Linked DNA regions of Homo sapiens: all the other regions are linked to region 1. Evidence: promoter capture Hi-C in 16 types of primary human blood cells and fetal thymus (Javierre and others, 2016). All regions are on one chromosome and are shown on one strand. Each heading gives the region's core, a stretch centred on a gene start or on the middle of the fragment in contact. The rest is flanking DNA. Distances are from core to core; before and after follow the strand shown. Region 1 holds the start of STAMBPL1 (STAM binding protein like 1). Region 2 overlaps IFIT5 (interferon induced protein with tetratricopeptide repeats 5). Region 3 holds the start of IFIT1 (interferon induced protein with tetratricopeptide repeats 1).

Region 1 (3,789 bases), core at 625-3,124:
AAAACAAGTTTCTTCTTGAAATTCCCAAGAACCAGTTGCTACATAAATTACAGCCAACGTATACGCAAAAGCAGATTCTTAGTGGCAATTTGCTGTATCTGTGTCTGAACAGAAAACAATCAGCCAATTCATTTTGCAGGTAGATTCCAATAACATTTTATGCCTTTGAATGGAGAAGCTCTCATGGTGCAAATGGTAAACAAAAAGAGCCTACTGCTCAGCGACACATTAACTTGTATTAAAAATAAAGATATGTATAGTGTAGCTACACAATGCCCACTACAATCCAGTGGCAGAGTATATTTTTGAAGTGCAATGTAGCATCCATCCTGAAAACACAAAATTTCCAATGGAAACAAGGTCGGGATAAAAACAAAACACGGTGGCTTAATTTCTGTGTAAAACAACCGTCAAAACCTACCCTCAAAAAAATTGACACGAACAATCAAACATTCAGGTATAATTTATCTGCTGGAACAAATCTACGTTATTGACCTTGACAGGGCCTTAAATCATGAGACCATAAACAAGCATCCTAGTGATATCTATTATGTCTTCGGAAATAGCTTAAAATCCAGGACTTCATGTTATTGTCAGTAATGAGCAAGATGTTTGGAAAGCAGTGTGCTCACTGGGGCTTACTTTGAAAGCTGTCTTTTTTACTTACTACCGAACACTGATTTCCAGGAAGCAAGCCACCCCACCCCACTTCCCAGGCACTTGATTTTTTTTTTCAAACCTCTAGATTGGGTTCCGTTTCCTGAATTACTTATTCCTTACATAAATTTTCTTTTAAACTTCAGCAATTATGGCACCTTAGGCTCTGGGGGTATCAGCAGCGTGGGTTGTTTTAGAGAAAGTTCTGAAAAAAATATGTTTTGGAGACATTCCATTTCTTTGTGCATCTCACTGGGGGCTTTCAGCGAAAGCTTTAAGTTATTCAGGTGAGGGGCAATGTCTTAGTCGCTCATAAAGGGCATAAAAGTAACATCATCTGGAAAGGCATGGCACCTGCTCGGCCGGGGTAAAGGTCCGTTTTTCTAACCCTCGCCCCTCCCTCCTCCACACCGCGCCGCTAGAGACAGTGCAGTGGTCTCTCCCAAGGTCGACATCATCTCCAAGGCTGCAACCCAGGGCTGAACCAAAAAAACAGGCGCACCCACGTATAGGTCACGGCCAGAGTCCCGCCCTGCCACCAGCAGCCAGGTCTTCCTGCCTCCCTATCAAGGTGAAACTAACCCAGAGGGCCCAGCGGAGGGGCGCATACAGGCGGCGCCGATGGAGGCGGCCGATTGCATGACTGGCAGGAAGGAAGCGATCAGCCGCCAAAGTGCATTTTTTCCTCCCCTAGAGCCAGCCCGGGACCGGACGCTGCCAGCGGAAGGGCCGGCGCGCGCCAGGCCACGAGGCAGACGCACCCGCCGTGCGCACTTCCCCGTCCGGTGCGCGCTCTCACTCACGCGCGCGCGCCGCTACTCACTAGCAACCCTTGGTGTCCGCAGCCCGTGTGGGACGGCGACTGCGACGGCTGCCCCCGTGGCTGCCGTGTGGCCTTGGCATCCGTCCGGCTGCTGCAACCCGGGCCGCGGTGGCTTTTGCTGGAAGGCGTTGCAGCGGGGTGATACCGGCACCCGGCGACGAGGCGTCCGCTCGTTTGCCTCGGCCGTGCCTCCTCCCCCTTCTCCTCTGCCGACAGATGGAGCTTTGCTGGTTCCAGTCGCGCGGGCTCCGTGCGTCGTTCTCCTCCTCGCTGTCGGACACCCCAGCGCAGGGGACGAACAGCGTCCTCGCAAGCCCACGCGCAGGCCGGCCGACCCCGAACCTGCAGCAACCGTCCCTGCTGCCGCTGCTGCAGGAAAATAAATTGTCACTGCGATGGTCCCGGCCTCCCCTGCCCCGGCCCCTGGGTGCCGCCTCCGCCTCTGCCTCCGCCCCCTCCTCTGTGGCGGCGGCGGCGGCTTCCCGCATTCTGCAGAAAAAGCTCGCAGGTGGAAGGAAGCAGGGCCCCTGCGGATGGCCTAGAGCCCGAGTGAAGCGGTTGGGTGCGACTTTCGCATCTGAAACCCTGCACGTCTTCTCCCCAGACCGGAACCACCTAAACTCCCTTTTGCTCCACCATCAATTTCACCGAGATGGACAGGAGTGGTGCCTTTTAAGACTGCACAGTACACAAGCCTTGATGCAGCTGACCGTTAAACTGTCACTGGAGTCTGGGGAAGGATAGGGTTTTGGTGAAAATCCCACTTATACTTCATGTTAGGATTCCCTTTTTGATATTTATCCACAACTGGCTACGCCCACTATTAAGCATCTTAGCCCTTCCCCCTACCCCCAATTTGTGTGTACTTGGAAAATAAGAAGTATTAGAATATCTCCTGGATGTTATGTTACTATCACGTGTGGTGTTCTTACTACAGTTCTGGCACTGTGTCAGGCAGTCGGTACACAAAATCTTAGTCCATCTGCCACAACCCTGTATATAAAAGGGACTCATTTTTTGTTTTTGTTTTTGTTTTTTCCATGAACGAGAGACAGAGAAGTAAAATAATTTATCCCAGGTTACTCACCTAGAAAGCAGTAGAAGCTGAAATTTAAACTCTGATCCAACACTGAAAGCTGTTTCTATTGGCTTCACAGGTTCTATTAACTGATAAACATTTTATGGAGACTGCTGCTGCTGGATGAAATAGAGTCGCTTTTCTTGAGCTTGGTTGGGAGCTTACTTCCAAGTGAGAGAAATGGCTGCAGAGTGGGGTGGGGAAACACTGGCTTTTCTTAGTTAGCCTTTCCTCTGGAAACCAAAATTCTAGCCCTGGCTCAGCCACCAACTGAGTTATTTGGTCTCAAGCATTTCACCTTCTTAAGCCTCATCTCCCTGGATTCTTTTTTTTTTTTTAAATGAAGAGTTTGATTGTTGGAGGCAGCCTGCAGCCTTGATTTTTAAGAAGCAACAGTGTTGTTTTGCTTAGTTTTAAGTTGGTTCCAAATGTTGAAGTTAGGAAATTTCACAGAAATTCAGACTTTTCACATTTTCTGTAAAATCGTAACATCAGACATTTGGTCCATGGCGAGTTCTAGCAACCATCAGCTGAAGCTGAATAGCAGGTGTCGCCTTTAGACTGTGAAGACACTCTTCAGTTTTCCACAGTCCCCACCACTCCCATACACCCCCACCTCACTGACATTTGAGAATATGGTAGGCATTTGAGTTTGCAGTATTGAACCAGATAATCTCATGACCTACTGGACAATTTAAAATTCAGTGGTAATTAAGAAGGTTAGCCAGATTCCTAAAAAGCATTATGAAACAAAAAATTCCACGTACGTATTTAGAGTGGTCATTGATCATGGTCTTGCTATCTAGCATCCAAATTCTCATAAAAGCCAAAATGGCCCAATACCCATCGTCCCCTGCTCCCCAGCGGCTAGAGTACCATTTTGTGACCCAACATCAGCCTCAGAGACTCCTGTACAGTTATTTGAATCTGGATTATGTGTTTCAAGAAGAAACATTTTAGAAATGTCTCCATTATCTGTGAAGTGGGTTTTGTGTTCAGGGACAGTAGTGCCAGAGGTAACACTGCGGCAATGTCAGTGGTGTCCTAAGTGAGCTATTTGAATGGTGTGATGACCCACCTGTTGTAATTTCAGCTGCTAAGCTTCCCTTCCTGTGTAAGGAGACTTATTTGCCAAACTTCCTGTCTCTTTGGTATGCTACTTAACGACTTTCCAATATATTTCTCTTCTGATTCAGTTAGCCAGAAATGATTTCAGCGTTGTGACCAAGAA
Region 2 (3,789 bases), core at 854-3,353, 540 kb before region 1:
TTACTTTTCACATGTCCATCAGTAGCTCCCAAACTTTGCTGCACAAGTTCCAACTGGGAAATCTAAAAATCATGATGCCTGGACTGCACCCCATGCCAATTAAGTCATTCTCTATGGGGCGGGACCCAGACATCCATGTTTTGTTTTAACTTTTTAGGTGATTCCAATACGTAGCCAAGTTTGAGGAACAATGCTGTAGACCTTACTACTCAAAATGTAATTAGAACAGCCACAGCATCCTCACCTAGGAGGAGCTTGTTTAAAGTGCAGAAATCTCAGGCCCCTTCTGTGTATGAACACAGCCCTGATTTATAAAAACAAGTTAACTGATGAAGCAAATAATCTTTTCTATGAACTGATGAAGCAAATAATCTTTTCTATGATTAACTGTCTGAGTAACCGCTTAATGTGAGTTCTTTTAATTATGTGGCAAGTGATAGAAGTTATGTACTTTCAGGTGGGAGAAATGGCCTGCTTTGCTAGAATATCCTAAAATATCTGAAAGGGACAAATGTGTCTACTGATAGGTCAGGACTTCAGTGCTGACTTTCTGAAATTCTTGAGTAAAGATCATTCCCTTCCTTGTTCTTCCTTAATAGATCAAACAAAATAATAATAATAATAAAAACAGAATTAAGTAAAACAAAAGATTTTTAAAAATTAATACGTGAGATACACTGCAGTATATATGTATGTCTGATTACGCATAGAAAAAAGATCTGGAAGTTTACATATCAAATTATAAGTTATAAGTTTACCTTGAGGGTGTGGAACTGTGGTAGGGTGAGAGGACTGCTCTCATTTTTAAATTCACATACTTTTGTAATTTTTTTTTGAAATTTACAGTGAGAATTCATTATTTTTATAATAATCAAACCATAATAGAAATTTTAAAGATGATAAAAAACAAAAAGTAAAACACACACACATACATAATAATTTTAAGAGTTACATTGGAGGAATGGAGAATTAAATCACATGGTACTTTTCCACTAATACTGTGATGGTACATAATTGTGTAGTCGGTAATCAAAGAAACTACATTAGAGAAGCCACATTAAGTAACATCCGAATTAAAAAGTCCCCTGGGATAAGAGCCCTCAAGCAGCGACCCCTCAAGGTGGATATTAAAACTGAAAGCAGTGCTTAACTCTTCCTGGAGTATCTACATGAAAAAAACAACATTCTGAAAATTTCACATTAAAAAAAAAGCTTCATAGAAGTCACTTTGAAATGCTAAAATAGCCAAAGGCCAGAAATTGAGGGTATAAAAACTCCATTCAGAACAGATTCAAAACTAGTACACTGAAACCTTGGTAATCTATGGGTGTAGGTTAGGGACATCTTCTTTTTCCATTTGTTTATCATTTCTCCCAATTTCCCAATGGCTGCTTTATATCTCAATAATTTTAACCTAAAAATATTGTAATTTTAGTTGGAAGGAATAAAATTAATTGCATCTAGATTCATTGCAGATTTGTTTTAGTTAAAAAAAAAAAGAGAACAATTTGAGACTCACTATTTTCCATTATTCATTTTTTTCCACATAATTATTTCTAGCTACTTAATAAACATTTGGGGATTGAATCCCTGAAGTTACATATTTAAAATTTGAGGAAATCCTTTTTCTCCTCTTCTAGTTTTTTCTTTATTGAAGTCACTAGAGATGACAAACTTTTTTATTATAAACTTTTTTCCAACAAAAAAGATATTTTAGGTGACTATTAGATTGATAGCTAAATATCCTCATCAAAGTCAAAACATCTGTAACTAAAAAGTGCTGTCTTTTGCAAGCTACACAATTAAGAGCTTAACTATCAATAATGTAATTTTGTACTCCTGGAAGAGTATTCCTGATCTAGGTATCAAAGGTTTACGTAGGAATATATTTACTATATAATATGAGAAATTCAAAGAGCAGAGATAAAAAGCACAGATCTAATGGCCATACCATTTTTAGAAGTTACAATAGCTAGAATATTGCTATTTCTCAATGGATTATAGTATTTTAATTAAAAAGAAAAAAAGAAAGAAAACCGCACAAGATTCATCATAATGCATATAAAGTATTTAGCACAATGCTTGGTACACAATAACTATTCAATAAATATTAGCTCTATAATAAACAAGGGATTAAAATAATAAAAAAAAAACAAACAGGAGAACCCAAAATGAAGGGAAAAACTTAGAGCTAATTTCCTAGAGTATGTATTTAAATGGAAAGTCGGAGCTCACAGAGAGCAGTCAGGAATTCTGCATTTTCTGGATCTATCTTTTGTGCCTTCTCATAGTACTCAGCAGCTTGCCTCTTTTCTCCTTCCAGCTTGTAAACAAACCCTAGGGCACTTAAACTCTGCACATCTAAAGCATTGTGACAAAGTCTCTTGGTAGACAATTTCTTCAGAGCACTTGTCAGTTTGGTGCGAAGGGGTGATCTGTCTTTGACCTTTAAGGCTTCTAAATAATGATGGATGGCAGTATTTTCTGATTTACGGTGAAATTCCTGAAAGCGGCCATAGTGGTAATGGATCTGATGTTTGTGATCATCGGTTATGTTCTCCAGACGAAGAGCTTTCCGGAAAATGTCCTCAGCATTGCTATACTGGCCTCCTTCAGCGTACATGTTGGCCAGGTCTGTGTAGGCAAATGCAAACATAGAGTCTCGTTCCATGGCTGCTTTGAAATGAAATATAGCAGATGAAATCAGCTCATCAACCTTTAGTTTATCCTTTCCTTTAGGTCTGTTGTGTGTGGCCTTCTTGATTTGGATCATTTGTGCCCTGTAGCAAAGTCCCATCTGGTGATGCAGGAAAGAAGAAGTTGGTGTCACCTCCAAGGCCTTTTTTAAAAGTTCGAGAGCTTTGTTCCAGGAATTTTTTCTCCTATAGAACTTGGCTGCATAACGAAGGACGTAAGGCTGGGATGATATTTGGTCCAGGATTTCTTCAATATACTTTTCCCCTTCAGCTTCTGCATGTACATCTTGAAGCTTCAGTGCCAGAAAAACCTTAATATAGCTGTTATCTGGGTTCAGGGTAACAGCCTTTCTCAAAGGCCCCAGAGAAAAGCTCTTTACAGACCCTTCTCTATCAGAATCATCCAGCCGATACACTGTGATAGCATAGCCGATGTTAAATTCTGGATTGTCAGGCTCCACTTCCAGAGCCTTCTCAAAAGCCGCTTTAGCCTTTTGATAATACTTTCCTCCAAATTTCAAGAGTGCCCAGCCTTTCTCACAGTCAGTCTCAGGACACTCCAACTTGTAGTTAGAAGGACTGGACAATTTCTTACAGACATTCCCTATCTTACCTGTATACTTCTGAGCTTCTTCAAGCTGGTCCATGTGATAATACACCCAGGCATAGTTTCCCCAAGTGACCAGGCTTCGTACTTCTTCTTTGTCTGAGTGTTCTTGCTGGATTATTTCTTCTGCTTGTTCCAAGCACTCAAGGGCGTCTTTATTTTGGCCTTTTAGGTGTTTCACATAGGCCAATAGGTTATAAAGAGCAAGTCTAGATTTTGTGGTAAGAAATTCAAGCTGTTGCCCAATTGTATCTTCTACCTCAAACAGATCAATGTCTTCCTTAAGTAAATTCCATGTAAAATGACATTCTAACTCCAACAGAATGGCCTTCAAGGTGTCCTTACGAATTTCACTGTCAAAGATAAAATACTTTTTAATTTTTGAAGAAATACAAGAAATAATTTTCTAAACCTTAAATATTGTTCTTTGCATAACAACTAATTTTATCCCTATTTGATCTTACAGTTAAAACATAAGTTTCCCAT
Region 3 (3,789 bases), core at 589-3,088, 510 kb before region 1:
AAAGGTTTAATGAAATATCATTGAATGTAGAGATCCTGATCCATATCTCAAAGCTACCACTTATTGTCTGTGTGATCTTAACATTTCTAAATCTAAGATTCCTTATTGTAAAATCAGGATCATACAGCCATGCACTGCATAATGATATTTTAGTCCACAAAGGACCACATATTTGGTGGTGGTCCTATAAGATTTTAATGCCACAATTTTGCTGTACTCTATGTTTAAATATGTTTAGATAAACAAATACTTGCCATTGTATTGCAGTTGCCTACAGTATTCAGTACAGTAACATGCTGCACAGGTTTATAGCCTAGGTGTGTAGTAGGCTATACCGTCTAGGTTTGATGTTTGCATAATGATGAAATTGCCTAACAGCTGCATTTCTCAGAGTGTATCCCCATTGTTACACGATGCATGACTGTGTAAGTACCTGCCTTATAAGTATCTTTTGAGAATTAAATGGAATAATTTACATAACACTTTTAGAAGCCAGGCTGTCACTTAATACGAATTCAAGAAGTGATAACTACCTTTATAACATTTAATATTATTATTATTTTAATTATCAGTACCAACTCCATCTGTTTACAGAGGAGGGTTCATCATAGGCCTGTAATGTGCATTTTCTGGAATTTTTACCTCTTCAAAATTTTGCCAACTGGAGCACTGAGGGGAAAATTTACAAATCAGTATTAAGTAATGGATTTTTTGTTTGTTTGTTTGTTTTTGAGACGGAGTCTCGCTCTGTTGCCCAGGCTGGAGTGCAGTGGTACAATCTCAGCTCACTGCAACTTACGCCTCCCAGGTTCAAGTGATTCTCCTGCCTCAGCCTCCCAAGTAGCTGGGACTACAGGCATGTGCCACCATGCCCAAATTTTTGTATTTTTAGTAGAGATGGGGTTTCACCATGTTGGCCAGGATGGGCTCCAACTCCTGACCTCAGGCGATCTGCTCACCTTGGCCTCCCAAAGTGCTGGGATTACAAGCATGAGCCCCCTTGCCCGGCCTAAGTAATGGTTTTTAAATCAGCTGAGAAATTCCCACATTAGGCCCTTTAGGTAAGGAAGATACGGATCTTCCCAAGCAGATGTGGATCATCTTCAGTCAAGGACGTACCAAGAGCCTAGATTTTCCAGGGAGGAGGCAATCTGTTTATCTTAAGCTCAGCCTGATTGCGAAAACCTGTTGTAAGAGGCCAGCAGTGCAGAAAGTGAGACCAGAAGCCTATGGAGGAAGGCTGTGAGCTTTTCCTACCACATCTCCACTGTATTACCCACAAGACATCAGAGAGGCTGCAAGACTGAGGCTTTCACATTCTTGTGGGTCCTGCTTTTTCTCTGTGGTAAAGAACCTGCAGAAAGCAATGCCTCTACTCAGACAAGCTGTCCATTCCTTCCCCATATCAGACAGAAGTGAATCTGATGGGAAAGAATCTCTCAGATTGGGATCATTTTCTCCCTTCCTGCAAAACTCTTTTCCCATTTCCCTCCCCTTCTTTGGGCTATAGCATGAGGTAAGCTTCCTCAAGTTCATGCTAACAAACATAAAAATGCATTAAACAATTTATGTATGTGTGAACGTGCACACACATGCATGCACACATTCAGTCCATAAGCAGATACTCAAATCGAGGAATTAGAAAACCTGACCTCACTGAGATCTAACCTGTTGAAATAGTATTTAATTACCATTTTTTCAAAAACTTTAGACATTATGGCAGAGGAGCAAAGAAATCCTTACCTCATGGTTGCTGTAAATTAGGCAGCCGTTCTGCAGGGTTTTGCTTAGCCAGGCTCCTCTGAGATCTGGCTATTCTGTCTTGTGGATTTTCAGTTACGTTTAAACCCCAAGACAGTGTTATATAAGGGAGCTAAACAGCAGCCAATGGTGTAAGCTGTGGGTGTGTCCTTGCAAGTTGGAAACCTAGGGAAACCGAAAGGGGAAAGTGAAACTAAAGCTAGCGGAATTCCTGCTGACGGGGGGGGGTGGGGAATGAAACTTTGTTTCTATTTTAAAACAGATAAACTGCAGACCTGCAACCATAGATGTTTCTAGTGCTGCAGAAACCCAATGACTGGCCAGCATTTGGAACGAGATTCACGTCCTCCCTAAAGAACATCAGTCCATTGCTGCCTATTGTGGCAGTTGGTGGCTGGATTCTGGATGAATACACAGAAAAAGGAGAATTGAAGGAGATAGCTCTATTTTCAGTTTCTATATTTAGAAGGAACCTACTATCAAATATAAAAATCTACTCTTAATTAATTGAGTAACAAGGCTTTTGGTTGCTGGTTGCTTTTTGGTTGCTTACTTTTGGTTTCAGCTTGACGGAAATAAGCAACCAATCTGGTTTAGGAATGAAGGAAAGAGACCAATACCTAGAAAGCCTTCTAACCCCTGATGACTTAGGCAGGAGGTAAAAGCAAGGAGGTATGGTTTGAAATAGAGAGCCCTCTATTGCTCCATCATGGACACTGTCATTCTGAATCAAATTCCAGTACAACCTCCACTACAGTTCATGGAATTTGAGTTTAAATAGTTAGCAACTACCTGGCACATAGAAGCATGCAAATAAGTGGTAACTATTATTATTATTATTTTCAGTCATCAAGTTAAAAATAATGATTCTTGGCTGGGTGCGGTGGCTCATGCCTGTAGTCCCAGCACTTTGGGAGGCCAAGGTGGGCGGATGACAAGGTCAGGAGATGGAGACCATCGTGGCCAACATGGTGAAACCCCCTCTCTACTAAAATACAAAAAATTAGCTGGGTGTGGTGGTGTGCACCTGTAGTCCCACCTACTCGAGAGGCTGAGGCAGGGGAATTGCTTGAACCTGGGAGGCAGAGGTTGCAGTGAGCCGAGATCACACCACTGTACTCCAGTCTGGTGACAGAGCGAGACTCCGTCTAAAAAAATAAATAAATAAAAAATAAAAAATTGTTGTCCGGGTGCATTGGCTCAGGCCTGTAAGTCCCAGTATTTTGGAAGGCAAGGCGGGAGGATCACTTGAGCCCAGGAATTGTAGACCAGCCTGGACAACATAGGGAGACCCCAACTCTACAAAAAAACTGAAAAAAAAAGCTGGGTGTGGTGGTGTGTGTCTGTGGTCTCAGCTACTCAGGAGGCTGAGGTGGGAGGCTCACTTGAGCCCAGGAGGTAGAGGCTGCAGTGAGCCATGGTCACACCACTGCACTCCAGCCTGGGCAACAGAGTGAGCCCCTGTCTCAAATAATCATAACAATATATAAAAACAATGTTTCCTTTAAAAAAACCTACCTACTTTGTCTTTTAACATAAGAAGCAGAAGAGGAGCAGGTGCAAGAGTATTTTCCTTTTGGAAACACTTAACTGGGCACACTGCCAGATCTAAACAGTTTCTGCTCAACTCCCTGCCAGACTCATCTCCCATGTCAGCTCTCACCAATTCTGTAAGCTTCCACAGAGAGTTCAACAACTAGTTAGAAAGTTCTACACAAATAAGAATTTCTGAATTAATAGGACAGGTTTTGTCTTGCACTCAGATACATGATCAGGCCATAAGCAAATGCTGAAACAGATGAATTAGAAAACATCTTTTGGGGAGCAAGATGTCTTTGGAATTCTTATGGGAAAAAATGGGTTTTCAATTTGCCAATGCACTAGATAGCATGCAGAGATATGAACAAAAAGTTTATCTTGCCATTGCTGTGAATTTGGCAGCAGTCTTGGTTCTACGGGGCTATGGCCCAGGCTGATTAGGTATTCAGAATCTTGCTTAGTGTCTCTTTGGGCTAAACAAACCCATGA

What was found. Contacts are between HindIII fragments. The CHiCAGO score rates a contact against its expected background, and 5 or more counts as called.
Region 2: a fragment that was not itself captured here is called in contact with the fragment with the promoter of STAMBPL1 in region 1 in 1 of 17 cell types (non-activated CD4 T cells); the score reaches 5.1 in non-activated CD4 T cells.
Region 3: the fragment with the promoter of IFIT1 here is called in contact with the fragment with the promoter of STAMBPL1 in region 1 in 1 of 17 cell types (activated CD4 T cells); the score reaches 5.3 in activated CD4 T cells.

What each region holds. Positions count from the first base shown.
Region 1 is chr10:88,878,330-88,882,118 of GRCh38, reverse strand. STAMBPL1 (STAM binding protein like 1) reads right to left here and starts at 1,874. Exons shown (of 11, transcript NM_020799.4): 1 at 1,481-1,874. It overlaps LOC124902551, which reads left to right and starts at 1,455. Exons shown (of 1, transcript XM_047426134.1): 1 at 1,455-2,385. The coding sequence starts at 1,697. The coding sequence ends at 2,224. RefSeq lists enhancers at 1-145, 1,166-1,275 and a silencer at 1,856-1,985. The HindIII fragment of the contact is 2,730 bases long and covers 932-3,661 here.
Region 2 is chr10:89,417,072-89,420,860 of GRCh38, reverse strand. IFIT5 (interferon induced protein with tetratricopeptide repeats 5) reads right to left here. Exons shown (of 2, transcript NM_012420.3): 2 at 1-3,656. The coding sequence ends at 2,213. Among named protein-coding and RNA genes, the nearest start is that of IFIT5, 4.4 kb to the right of the region's middle. The HindIII fragment of the contact is 1,777 bases long and covers 1,215-2,991 here.
Region 3 is chr10:89,390,672-89,394,460 of GRCh38, reverse strand. IFIT1 (interferon induced protein with tetratricopeptide repeats 1) reads right to left here and starts at 1,838. Exons shown (of 2, transcript NM_001548.5): 1 at 1,744-1,838. The coding sequence starts at 1,748. It also overlaps a transcript of LIPA not described here. RefSeq lists enhancers at 1,109-1,158, 1,960-2,009, 2,240-2,289 and a silencer at 2,842-3,003. The HindIII fragment of the contact is 1,915 bases long and covers 1,524-3,438 here.